Linked DNA regions of Homo sapiens: region 1 is linked to region 2. The links are contacts of gene promoters, found by promoter capture Hi-C in blood cells and fetal thymus (Javierre and others, 2016). All regions are on one chromosome and are shown on one strand. The core of a region is centred on a gene start or on the middle of the fragment in contact, and the rest is flanking DNA. Distances in the headings are between cores, read along the strand shown. Region 1 overlaps LRRC72 (leucine rich repeat containing 72). Region 2 holds the start of AGMO (alkylglycerol monooxygenase).

Region 1 (6,999 bases), core at 2,931-5,430, 1.0 Mb before region 2:
CAATTATTCAAAGATATATTTTTTACAAAGACATATTTTCAAAGGTAGTCTTCGTTTTTAAACCGCTGAGCTATAAGACTACTTCTCAAATATTTCTTTGCAAGAAGGAAGGGTCCTTACGATTTCGGTCAAGCAGCTCCACTCCTGGAAGGTGGTAGATGATATATAAACGATACAGGTTATATTGGCACAAAGGATTTTGGTATAGACCTGCAAATGAAGAATCCAAAATAAAAATGTCAGATTTCAAAATCAGTTTCACTTATCACTTATAAAATACAAAAAATTAAGAGATTCGTATAAAACATAAGAACTTGTAAAGCTCTTCTCCATATCAAGCAATAGACCCATTAAACCTTTACTTAGAGCACCAGTTAATTTTTCTATCTGTTAAATTCATTCATTCAACAAATATTTACCAAGTGCTTACTATCCACTAGGAACTGTGCTAAGGGCTATGATCAAATCATTGACCCAAGTCTGCAACAAATGAGGGAAATTTTTAACATGTCCATAAATAAGTTAGTAAATGAAGAACTAGATATCAGCTCTATTGGAGTCTTGAGGCTACTTTTTATTAAAATATCACTTGGTACTCTTCTTTCAGTCTCCAAGTTCACAAGGGTGCATGTGTGAAGATAGGCAGAGACACAACACCCGGCTCTAATAGAACTTACTTCCTCCACACCATTGCTCATAGTTCAGAATGTGTCAATAGTAGCTTCAGATCTCAGCAGGACCAGAGCTGAGCAGAAGTGGCTCTTGCATCTTGTCTACCTCTGGCCAGGCACGTGCAGTTCTGAGATCCTGGTGTGCAGGTGCTAGGATGTGTGATAAACCGCACTTCCTAATGCAGTGGTTGGAAGAAGGGGGCATGTGGATGCAGAAGCAGCCCTGGCACTTTTGACATCATATCCCTTGGGAATCAGCACATAGTTATGTTTTTAAACATCCTCAACTAGAAGTTGTGAGGGCTTTATTTTTAAAAAAAGATATTTTCCCTATTCATCCTAGATGATAATAAACATATTTTTTCAATACAATGTGAAATAAAACTTTAATGATTTTCAGTTGGGCATTTTTTTTTTTTTTTGACAGAGTCTTGTTCTTGTTGCCAGGCTGGAGCGCAATGGCATGATCTTGCTCACTGCAACCTCTGCCTCCCGGGTTCAAGCAATTGTCCTGATTCAGCCTCCTGAGTAGCTGGGATTACAGGCGCCTGCCACCACGCTTGGCTAATTTTTGTATTTTTAGTAGAGACGGAGTTTCGCCATGTTGGCAAGGCTGGTCTCGAACTGCTGACCTCGTGATCCGCCCACCTTGGCCTCCCAAAATACAGGCATCAGCCACCGCACCTGGCCAGTAATCTTTAGTTATTCGGATTCCACCTACCTACATGCAATTTCTAGGAAATTCTTCTGAAAATACACCTAATAAGGAGAACCACTAGATGGCAGTAGTAGAAAGAGCTCCAGCTACCGCACAACTCCTTCACTCAATAAAATGAAGCTCACTTAATGTACATGTGAAATTTAAGAGTACTGTTGTAGACTATTCATAAAATACAGGTTTGATAAAGGCATGAAAATAGTAAGCATTAGAAACTCGGAAAAAACTGATTAATATTTCTAAAGAGCAGTTTGTAACATAAAGAAGATTGGGGTAGGTGCATGCTTAAAAGATAACAAGCTAGATAAAAACTAAAAAAAAAAAATCAATCATCTGGATGTTTTCTCTGTAGTAATAAAGCATTCTGATATTTGTTGTATAAACACAACTTTTTCTGGCTAATAAAAGCGTTATATATAGCTATTCCCTGTGGAAAACGCGAGCTTTAGAGGGACATAAAGCAGGCAATGGAAGACACCTGGTACATAATAAACAAAAGTTACAGGAGTGAGGAAAGGCATACAGGAAAATGTAGAGCCAGGAGCCACAAAGAAATTTAAAAGAAAGGAAATATGTAAGTAATGGAGAAAATGAGAAGAAAAATAAAACTTTTTTTTTTTCAAGATTTCTTAAATGACAGAAAATGGTCTGAATTTTATTCTTGAAAGAGAAGGATTTTAAAGTGGTAACAAATAATTATAACTGCAGGACAGGGAATAGAACAGATGTATATTAAACCACTAATAAAAGAGCCATTGGGATCATGAATTGTAGTTCGAGCCAGAGAAAGTAAAGAAAAGGACCCTCTTCAAGGATATAAAAGCAAAACACAATTGTTTCTAATGAGAACTCAGAAGGAAGAAAAAGTCACAGATGCTTTAGTACAGAAGTCTGCTTTGTGGTTACTGTCTTGGGGAATCACATCTGACACCTCATAACCCTGTTATACATTATAGCATCTGGAAGTAGAGTCTGCCTTTACATATGACGTTAATGGAAAATATACCAACATCTTTCAATGACGTTTTCTCTAGGTGTACCCTTCGTCTTCTCTTTCCCCTCTGAGGACATTACTATCCATTTCATTTCATTTCTTGGGTTTTTCTGCTAATCCTTGGTTAAGTAACTTCTATATGGAAATTTAAAAACTAGCTTCAGCTGAATAAAACACCAAACTTGGATTTACTACTGTTACATTACTTATTAGCAACATATTGATACTAAAAACTCTATGGACTTGTGGTTGACCATTCATCTCATCCTAAAGTAAAAACTGAATGACACGAAATCAGAAAACTGAACTGTTAGCCCATCCTCTGCTTAAATTAACTTTAAAAATTGAGTTAAATAACTTGACAGGCATTTCATCATTATTATTCACTGTTTCCTATCTCTTAAATTTTAGAAGAAGCAATCATATTTTTAACTCTATTTTTTCCTTCTATACTATTAAACATTTAACATTTTGGATTTATGAGTTTTGGATTGATGCTGCTAAAATCAACATAAATTAAATGTCTAAGATGTGAAATCAGTTTCCTGTTTCTGAATGTTCTGAAAGCCTTCTATGATGTATGGGCACATTCTTTTAGAAACCATGAAGAGAAATTGCTTACACTTTCACTTTCAATAGGTTAATACTATTTAATCCACCTTCCCTCTAGGCTACTTACAGAGTATACCTCAGTGGCGCCAGCACTGTCTTGCTTATCTTAATTTGGGATTCTGAGTCTAAGCAATTTACATTTACCCAATGATATATCAAAATGTCTCTACTACCTTACCGCACAAGCTTGGCTTACAGGAGTCACGTGTATGAAGCTACTTATTATCGAGACAGAAGAGGAAAAAAAAAAGCCATCTAAATAATTGGCTCCAGTTATTTTTTTGTAAACTTTTAAAGCAGAATTTAAAATCATTATTTAAATGAACCCCAATGTTTTTAAGGCTGCCTTCGAAGAAAGTTGATGTAATTAATAAGAGACCAACATCCCAATTTTAATATATGGGAAAAAGAAAATGACATGGAGAAGTTAAAAGCCTATAGAGAACGGCCTGTGGAAGGAAGTTCAGCTGTCAATAATCAGATAGGAGGATTGTGAGGCTCCGGGTCAAGGTTACTTAGTAAGGTCAGCATCTCCATTGTTAATCACCATCTTGTTTTAACTAAAAATCTGGTGGCCACCACACACCATGTGCTTTTTACTGAATATGGAAATCACCCCTGATTGTAAAAGGCAAACTACGATAAAGCAGAGGATCGAGAGAGGAGGGATCAGAATATCCTCTTTTTCAGGACAAACAGTGGTGAAAAACACTGTTGGTTCTTTTCCTTTGGTGAATTGTTTTGTCTTTTGGGAGGGGTGGTCCCACCTGGAAGGGCATTATAGGAAAAGAGGCTCAAAGGAAGGGACCCTGGAGATCCTAGTCCCTCCCCGTATCCCAGAATCCCTCTGCTCCCCTGGCTTTTTGCCATGGGCAGTGGATTGGGGCCACTGCTGAAGACAACGGCAGGAAGTGTTTAAAGGCAATACCTGTGGAAACATGGAGACCCTCTCTCGAAAGGAGGAACTCCCTGTTCCCAAGGCTGATTCCTGGAAGCTCCGGTAGGAAGCAGGTCTTAACAATTATGGCATGCAGGAGTCTTAAGCATACTTTCCAACAGTGGAGTTTAATAAAACAGAAAATTAGAAAGAAACGAGAAAACTGAAGGTTTAGAACAGGAGAGTGGATTAAGCATTTTGTTGCTGCGGCTTTTGGTGGCGGTGGTTTTTTTCCCTTAGTACTGGAAAGGGGGCAGGAGTTAATAAAAGCCATCAGCCACAAAGTGGGTCTTTGACACATGTGGATTCTGATTTAGAAAGAGTTTGGAGGAGGGAAGGGAAGAGGAAAACTGAGCTAGAAAGAGAGGGTGTGGAAAGGTAGACTGCCTAGAGAGAAGAGGTGGGGCCCCCTGACTCTGCCTGAAGACAGGAATTCCAGTTCCCAGGACCTCACACTCTGCAGCTGGTTTAGGCCTCCCTGAAGCTCTCAGCCATGCGTCTCCTAGGCAGTCCTTGGCAATTCTCCTCATAAATGCCAATGGAAGGTGCGATGCTGAGAATGGATTAGCGTTTTGCCCTTCAGGCTATTTTCTCACCCTCTGAAGAACTTGTAATTTAAGTGGAATAATAACACTTTATAATTTTATATGGATTTACAACTTAAAAAGACAAAAATGACTACATTTGAAAATACATAGAGTTCTCATTTTAGTTTATCAGCTAAAGCTAATCTGTGATTGCAAATGAGGCTCATAGAAACTTAATCTGAGGACATGACTGCACAAATAACGTTAGTTGTCTAATAAATACAAACTATTTTTCATACAATATCTTTAACCAAAATGGAACATGAGTTCAAAATGTGAATTTTTAGAAAATGCTTTTTGTTTTTTGTAATTGGACATAGCATTTTCTCCATTTCAAACAAATGACCCCACAACAAGATTCTCAACTGGAAAGTTATAGTTATGTAACTTGAAATACGTCACTGTGATTTTAAGTAGTGGTCGTAAACTATTGTGACTGGTAATGATATGGACATTGTACTACCAGGCTGGTATTTAAAAACTAGAAAATTCCCACTCCTCATGCCTGGCACAATTCTACACTCACATACACCCTTGACAAGCAGGGCATGGGCTGGATTTCAGGATCCATTCAGTCCTGGGCTGGGCACCTTTGTTTAGGGTATAACCTTATTTATTACTATGGGCATAACTCTGTTTATTACTGTGGGAGTAAGCTTGTTTACCACTCTCCAAATGTTGTTTTATAACAAGTTTCCTTAAATTATAGAGTTTTTAAAGTAGCAAATTAAATCATTTTGCATTAGACCCCTTCGACTCTAAGAAATATTTAGGCTGAGTGTTACTAATTTGTAAGCCCTATATAGGTATAGACTGGGTCTTTCTTGTTCAAATTTGAGTCCTATTATCTAGAATAGTGTCATGTAGTGAATGTGTGATAAACATTTATTAAATGAATGAATGAATAGATTATAAATATTTATTGAATGAATGAATAAATAAATGATAAGTAAAACAAGGCATGAGTTTATGTTTCAACACTCCTTAGGAGTTTGGTTAAATCTCTGAGCTTTTCATTTCCATGATTAAAGGGAGTAATTCTAATCACATCATAGGATGCTGTAAAGATTTAAATGCGACTATAATAAATCATTTTTTTAACAGGAAAGACATTCAAACATATTACTATATGATTATTATTTAAAATATCGTTTTATTGAGTCTATTAGCAGAATTTCGAGACTGGATGCAATTTATTTCATTATCTGATTTACATAATCCACAATAAAACAATTTTTTTCTTTTTTTAGAATTTCAATTTTTGTTGTTGCTTCAAAATAACATTAATGGTGAGAAACGTTTTCTTAAAAAAAAAAAACAGAGTTATCTTAATGTTTGAAGCAACCCTGAGAGGTAGCTATCAGCCCATTTTATAGAAAAACAAAGGTAAGTGTTCTAGGTCTAGCATAACTAGTCTTTTAATTATAGCAGCATTTTTCCAGCAGACAGGGGCCAGGTGACTCAAATATGCAGGCCAATTCTTTCACAGAAGATCCAAAAGCTGTGAAAAAAACTCCTGACAGCAGGCAGCCTTCTCACGTCTCCAAAATAAGCATAAAATTGCCATGAACTTGGTGTAATTTTGTGATTTTAATACTTGGGTTTAAAGAATCTAACTATAACAAATGAATCATTTTCCCTCAGTACAGTAGATATAACTGATAACACTAACAATATATGGAAACCTTAGTAACTCTCTGTACATTTATCTGATTAGAACTTTCACCATCAATACTAGCTTACAACTGTTCAAAACACTGTCTCAGGCAATTCTGAGAAATGAATAGAAAAGGAATTAAAAAATATATCTATTGCGTTACATTATTATAAAGAGGTCTCTAAACTCTAAAGTCTGAAAACCTACTCGTTGATCTGTAGGTCTTTTACCTCAGTACACCCAGAATCCTTTATCTTGTATTGTGGTTGTATACATGTTTATTTACCCTTCAAGACCATAAGTTTATTGAGAGTAGGAGTGGTGTATTATTTATTTATTTTTGACTCATCTCACACTTCTTTCCAATAGGTTAGTTCCTTACTGGGTGTGATTCAATATATATGAATAAAGTTTGCTGGGCCTCCAGTTGAAAGCTTAAAAAGTCTTTTAGTTTTTTTTTTTTGGTATCAGCTTTATTAATATACTTTATGTATCACACTGTTCACCCAGCTTAAACATATGATTTGTGTGTTTGTGGTTTATTCACAAAGTTATGCAACTTATCACCACAGTCAATTTTAGTATGTTTTATCACCCCCAAAATAACCCCACACCCTTTACTCTCTAGCTGTCACAACTCCCAGTTCCTTGGCCGTTGGCAACACTCATCTATTTAAAAACAGTTACCTCTCGGTGTTGCTGTCCCTATAGATGTGCCTACTTGGACACTTACATAAATGGAATCATATGTGTTAAAACTTACTTTTGAGATAAAACCAAAAACAAATTTAAACATGTAAATCCTCTTGCTACTTTTGTCATT
Region 2 (7,207 bases), core at 3,897-6,396:
CAAATATCATCTTGAATTGTAGCTCCCACAACTTAGAAGTCCCAATAGACTTCTAATTATCTACCTTATTCTAAATGTATTTTTTAAACTAATTTGGAAGATGTTCCTCTTAATCTTATAATATTATAATTATCGTAGATATATCTATGACTACATTTCATATTCAAATTGTGGAAGGGACCTGGTGGGAGATAACTGAATCAATTGAATCATGGGGCCGCTTTCCCCCATTGTTCTCATGACAGTGAATAAGTCTCATAAGGTCGGATGGTTTTATAAGGGGAGACCCCTTTCACTTGGTTCTCATTCTCTTTCTTGCCTGCCGCCCATGGAAGACATGCCTTTCACCTTCTTCCATGATTGTGAGGCCTCCCCAGCCACGTGGAATTGTGAGTCCATTAAATCTCTTTTTCCTCACGAATTACCCAGTCTCAGGTATGTCTTTTATTGGCAGCGTTCAAAAGGACTAACACAAGCGTCCTCTTTTTGGTTCATGTGAAGGTTCAAAGTCCTGTGTTTTGTCCACCTTGGTTTCACCTAACAGGTCTTCAGCCAAAGTGCTCTGTCTCTGTTGAATTTTGAAAGAATTACTATTTGAACCAAAAAGTGTATATTTAGCCAACTTATCCTTCACATAGATAAGCAAAAAAAATTATAGTAAGGTATGCAATTATACATGTACTGTCCTGAAAACTTTGTGCAATCTGTAACAGTACAAAGGAAAAAAAAAAGAATGGAAGATATAAGGAATAGAAGTGTTGGAAGTGAGCATTGACATGATTTAGTCATAGAATTAAGTTCAAATGATTTTAGTATATACATTAATTCATTCAAAACAAATTTATTGAGTGTCTCCGATGTCAATTCTTTCCATATTAATCCATGAATTTAATGTAGTTCCAATTAAAATGCCAACAGGATGCTTTGAAGTTTAGTCTAAACATTTACACAAGCAAATGTGTAAAAACAGCTTCATATTTTTGAGTAATAAAATTCAAGCATGATAAATTGTTCTACAAGTTACCAGAATTTATTATGACAGTACAATAATGAAGACAACATGGTACTAGCATAAGAGTAGATAAAAACATCCATAGAGCTGAATGAAGAGCCTGGAAATAGTACAGGTACATAGAATAGTGGGGAAAGTATTGACTGACTAATGGTGTGGCAAGAACTGTGATCCATAAAGGCAAGGTAAAAAGTCAAATAATTACTACATACCATATGGAAAACTAAATTCCAGATAATTGAAACAACAGAAATCTTTTAAATGCTCCAAAAAAAAAAAATCAGAAGATTATTCTTACGGAATTCTGGCAAGGGAAATGTTCATAAGCAAGATCCAAAAGCAGAGGTAACAAAGGATAACAGCACACACAAAGTTACAATTGCAGTATGACAACATATAGATAACTAGTGAATATGAAATGAGAAAATACTTGTCACATATATCAGAATATATATACTGTACATAGAATTATATATTTATAATACAAATGGCCTATAAACCAATAATGACAATGAAATAAAATAATGTGCAGCTCATATTAAAAAATAAATTTCAGATTAAGAAGCAAAAAAACATTAATAAATGTACTGAAAGATGTTCAGTGTCATTAGTGAGATGCAAATTAAAACAAGATACCATTTTTTCATTAACTAATTGGCTAAAAATTATGAAAGATTAATAATAGCCAGTGTTAGCAAGAGTGTGGAGGGGAAGGCAATCTGAAAGGGGAATTCGGCAGTAATTATCAAAGGGTAAATTTTACATCATCTTCATAGCATAATTCCGCTGCTAGGAATCTATGTAACAAAAAATGTGCAAAATGTATAAATATTTATACCATGATGTTTATTGTTGCATTAAATTTATTAGTTAAAAATGGAAGACTGCGTTTACACACACAACAATAGAGGAGTAATTAAATAAGTTATGATGGTGTGCTGGTTCTTGGTTGACTTTTTCCATAGATTGATTCTTCCCTCCCTTTCTCCTTCAGCACTGTGTGTAGTAAGAGGTTACCTTCAGCAGGCTTCTTTTTCTAGCTTTTTCTGTCAACTGGCTTTTGACTCATTTAGCTTGTATTAGTCTATTCTCACACTGCTGTAAAGAACAATCTGAGATTGAGTAATCTGTAAAGAAAAGAGTTTTAGTTGCCTCATAGTTCTGCAGGCTGTACAGGAATAATTGCTAGGGAGGCCTCAAGTAACTTTCAATCACTGCAGAAGGGGAAACAGGTGTGCCTTACATGACCAGAGCAGGAGGACGAGACAGAAGAGGGAGGTGCTACACACTTTTAAACAACCAATCTCTTGAGAACTCACTCACTATCAGGAGAACAGCAAGAGGGCAATCTACCCCCATGATCCAATCATCTCCCACGAGGCCCCTCCTCCAACACTGGGGATTTCAATTTGACATGAGATTTGGGCCAGGACGCAAATCCAACCATGTCATAGCCTAATGGGAAGTACTGTTGGGAGACTGGTGGGCAGGAAGAAGGGAGAAGCCATAGTACTTCCCTTTCTTCCCTCTCTGCCATGGGTATTATTTCTGGCTTTGATTGGCTTTGCTCCATGGGAAATACTCTTGCTAGACAAGCCAATGGTGGTTCTAACTTTTCCTAGATGACCATAGCCCCTGGGCCCTACTAATACAACCTTCTCCATTTGTCCCTACAATTTAACAATGGTAGTGGCTTCCTATTGGTACTAATCTCTAGATTACCTCTTTGTTCCTGCTTGGTTTTTTACTTCTCCCATCATCTATGTAACAACTTTTTTCTTGTATAAAATTGCTTCTGCTTTAAAAAGTTAGAAATAATTTTGTTTTGCTCATTGAAATGCACACACACACTTTTGCAGCCAGTAAAAACAACGAAGAAAAGGCTGTACCTGTATAATCATATACTAAAAAAGAAATGTTCCTGGTAAGTTATTGACTCCAAGAAGGAACTTGCTGTATCTTATGTTTGATAAGGTCCATTGCAAAATCGAACCATTATGTGTATATAGAAACGTATTTGTATAGTAATAATGATAATAACTATCCCTTTTAGGAAAAAACAGATATGGCAAAAAAAAAAAAAAAAAAAAACCCCACCAAGAGGATATGTTATCCCTATGAAGTGAAGTGCAAGGTGTGCATATATTGAGAAGAAAGGATGCTGCCACTTTTGACTTTATATACAGCTATATTGTTTGTATTTTTTTCTCTTGTATCACATTGTTAATTTCCAAAATTGTTTTGAAAGCAGGTAATAAAACAGTATGCCTACTATGATCATTTTTATTAAATTTTTTTTTGTTTTTGTGACAGAGTCTTGCTCTGTCCCCCAGCCTGGAGTGCAATGGCAAAATCTCCACTCTCTGCAACCTCCACCTCTTGGGTTCAAGCAATTCTCCTGCCTCAGCCTCCCGAATAGCTGGGACTACAGGTGCCCATCACCACACCCAGCTAATTTTTGTATTTTTAGTAGACACGGGGTTTTGCCATGTTGGCCAGGCTGATCTCAAACACCTGACCTCAGGTGATCAGCCCGTCTCGGCCTCCCAAAGTACTGGCTGGGATTACAGGTGTGAGCCACCACGCCCAGACACCTTTATTAAAAATTAATGTCCATATGTACTTATTGGTAATGGGAATGGTCTGAAAGGACAGTCAATTCTGCTATAACATGTGCTTTGAGATTAAATTTGTTCCAATGTGATTAATATACCAGAAAATAATTTGAGCATACTGCCTATGCTCATGTGTGATTTTATTTTCAGTGAAAAAGAGTAGTTGAACTTTAAAAAACTGAACTGAAAAACAGAAAGGCTTAGGATGCACAAAATACACCCACCACTTATAGTAACACCCTCACTTCACCTGTGTGTTGTGAGCCTTGACACCCATATGTCATATTGCAACTTTCTGTCTGATTTCAGATAACCCACATTTCAACAAGCTAAAGTAACTTGCAGTTTGCAAATCTTCCAATGCCTAATTTCCAAAACAAGTTTCAGGTCTTTTTCAAGGTAAAGCATCATATTTATTTTAGTATTTATGTATATCTTAACCATGTAACGTGTGAAAGTGTGCTACCATTTTTATTAGGCTCTCATCCTTTTTTTCTTGTTCCTTGTGGGTCATTATGAAGTTTTTGAGTATTTTACCCTAATCACATTTTTTCTCACAAGTCCCGTGGTTTTTATTGCACAATTTTGTACAGTATAGTGATTTTTAGGAATGGATATATCACATTATAGCAAAACTGACCATACATGTACCAAAATGTTAATAGCGTTTTGGGCAGCTTATTATTGCTTATCTATAGTTTCTATATTTTTCTAAAACAATCGTGCATTGATACTTTAATTAGATCTATGTAAACATCTTTAAATGATGAAATGGCAGCTAAAGGATGATTACAGCTGTTTTGGGTAAAGAGCTGAGGCTATTCTGGCAAGCTCCACATATTCACTGGTAATGTAATAAATTAAGTGCCTTCTAATCTACTTAAAAGGTACAATCACTTAAGCTCTTTCTGTAAAACAGAAACAGGTCTCACAGCAACATCTTGGCACCTTCTTTAATCAGAAAGTTCCCATAAGTACTAAGAAGAATAGAGAAGATGTGACTAGCCAATTTTCCATTAAATAATGTAGATTATGTAATAAGCCAAATGCCCCTAAACTGGTTGCAAACATTCAGAAGTGGTAATAACATGATTCAGATACAGAAATATAGATAGGCAATAAGGAGCCAGATATTCAGTGCTTACTGACTTTCAAGCTATTATTAAGTAGCTCGCCTATACACAGTCTCTGTAGGAAATAAAGAAACTACAAGCTTGAACACATTGTAAATTTCTAAATGAGGAGAAAAAAAGGTTTTTCTATGTGACTTGATGCTTGAATTTCTATCCAGTTTTTCAGAGTGAACATATACCTGCGTTATCACTTTTTTCTTTCCGAGACACTATTATGATGTTTTTTCTCTTCTTTTTTAAGTAGTAACTTGCTCCACCTACAGTCAAACTGCACTGTATGACTTTGATTTGGGTATGAGTCCTCTTTTCCCTCCCCCACATGCCCTGTTTCTGGCCCAGCGCCCACTGAACTCTGTACTTGTTCTTGATCCTTGTATTTTCCTGTCTCTCTACACAGAATCGGCTGTTGAGTGTGCTCTCAGTGGAGCTTTGGTTTTAGCTGTTCTCTGACAAAGAGCTTGTTCTGAGCTGCACATCTCGTCCTCTTTGTTCAGCCTCAGGCTTCAAGCATTGAATCCTAAATATTCTCCAGCTGGGAATCAGACAAGGGCAGAAATGAAGAACCCAGAAGCCCAGCAGGATGTTTCAGTTTCCCAGGGATTTCGCATGTTGTTTTACACGATGAAACCCAGTGAAACTTCATTCCAAACATTAGAAGAGGTGCCTGATTATGTAAAAAAGGTGAGACTTTATTGGAAGAGGCTACTCTTATTCTTGCTGCTTTCTTAATAAATGGTAAGGTCAATCTCCTTAGGGTTTTGTTCACTTTCATTATTCAAATGATTACATTCTAATAATAATAATTCAGTTTCTTAAAGGCGTGAAGCAAAAGTAGAATTTCCACTTGAATTTTCTTACAATCCATAGCCATCTTCACCTGTAAATTCCCTCTTTTATATGTCACTCCAGAATATGACAAAAACAAAAGTTTAAAGTTTTCCTGGACTCCATGGCATTGTAAATGTAGCTATTGGAAGCTCAATGACAAATAGTTACACCACATCAGTAAACTTTGTAACAATTTCATTTTTAAATCTTTCACTTGTCCACCCCTTCCAGGGAAACTATTTCCTCTTTCATTTGGTAGAGTAGTTCAGCAGAATGAAGGATATGCAGCTTGACCAGGTCCAGCTCTGACTTCCTAAGTTTGAATTTGACCCAAGTTTTCTTTGAAACTCTGAAGTGCTCAGAGGCACATTTCACTTCTGGTTCCTGGCTATGATTGGAAGTGGAAATATCCAGAATTAGAACTTGAATACTGAAGTTCCCCACCCTATCAAAGTTATTCCTACAACACTCACTAGTTCATGGCAGAAATAGAAAAAAAATGACATCATAGAATATGTTATTGAGAGTTCAGTTTAGAAAGCTTCAAAACTCATGATTAGCTTCCAAATGAGTAAAATCCGTATCTTTTTCAAGATTAGATATTACACTTTCTTTCTGAGTTTTTAAGTTAAAAAAAGTGGCACTGATATCTTCATAAATTATTATTGTTTATACTGCAATATCAAACCAAATTCAATGCTCCATCACCAATAGTGGAGCTTTCAAAACATCTCTTATTATGTGAAACAAAAATCAAAACCAAATGAATAAAATCTGAATCATGTTTTAAGCAAACATGTAAAATTACCATATTCTCTAAAATTCTAAGCAGAAAATTGTCTCTACTCTTTGAATTTCATCATTAGAAATAGTTCTGGTAAGTCTAATATGAAAAATTAGAATTATGTGCATCTTTAAGGAAAGCCTCTTGAAGTGGGTCTAAATTATACATGTAGAGACAATAGACCTCTAATTATCTACCTTATTCTAAATGTATTTTTTAAACTAATTTGGAAGATGTTCCTCTTAATCTTATAATATTATAATTATCGTGGTTATATCTATGATTACATTTCATATTCAAATTGGATGATAGAATTTGAGCACATGTTTAGTGTATGTCTAAAATAATTAGACTTCTTTACCACTGTGTAGGAAGTAATCCTCTAAAATGAGTGTCTACCATCTCCTGCAGGGCTTCCCAAATCTGGGCCTTTCAATTCTGAAATGACTAATCAGGAAATGTAAAATAATTTCATATGGAACATAATAGCATCTCTTTTCTGCAACTTCCTTTCCAGGCAACTCCATTTTTCATTTCTTTGATGCTGCTTGAACTTGTTGTCAGCTGGATTCTCAAAGGAAAGCCACCAGGTCGCCTGGATGATGCTTTAACGTCAATCTCAGCTGGTGTTCTGTCTCGACTTCCAAGGTGAGTTAGATGGTCAACAACGCTGAGCATAAAAACTGAAATTGCCTAAGTATGAGGGGCAAAGGAACCCAATGCATGGGAGAATTAGTTTATTTACACAAATTTTCCCAAAAAATTCAGTTCATGTCATTATTTAAAATTTTGATATTTTGTTCTTCATTGATTTTTTGCACTTATTTAAAAAATC

Evidence for each region. Contacts are between HindIII fragments. The CHiCAGO score rates a contact against its expected background, and 5 or more counts as called.
Region 1: a contact is called between a fragment that was not itself captured here and the fragment with the promoter of AGMO in region 2, in 1 of 17 cell types (endothelial precursors). The highest score is 5.4, in endothelial precursors.

The regions. Positions count from the first base shown.
Region 1 is chr7:16,559,524-16,566,522 of GRCh38, reverse strand. It overlaps LRRC72 (leucine rich repeat containing 72), which reads right to left. Exons shown (of 9, transcript NM_001195280.2): 6 at 121-210. Among named protein-coding and RNA genes, the nearest start is that of LRRC72, 36 kb to the right of the region's middle. The HindIII fragment of the contact is 1,994 bases long and covers 3,184-5,177 here.
Region 2 is chr7:15,559,954-15,567,160 of GRCh38, reverse strand. It overlaps AGMO (alkylglycerol monooxygenase), which reads left to right and starts at 5,146. Exons shown (of 13, transcript NM_001004320.2): 1 at 5,146-5,441; 2 at 6,890-7,020. The coding sequence starts at 5,316. It overlaps LOC124901591 (a long non-coding RNA gene), which reads right to left. Exons shown (of 3, transcript XR_007060217.1): 3 at 6,961-7,065. The HindIII fragment of the contact is 1,289 bases long and covers 4,843-6,131 here.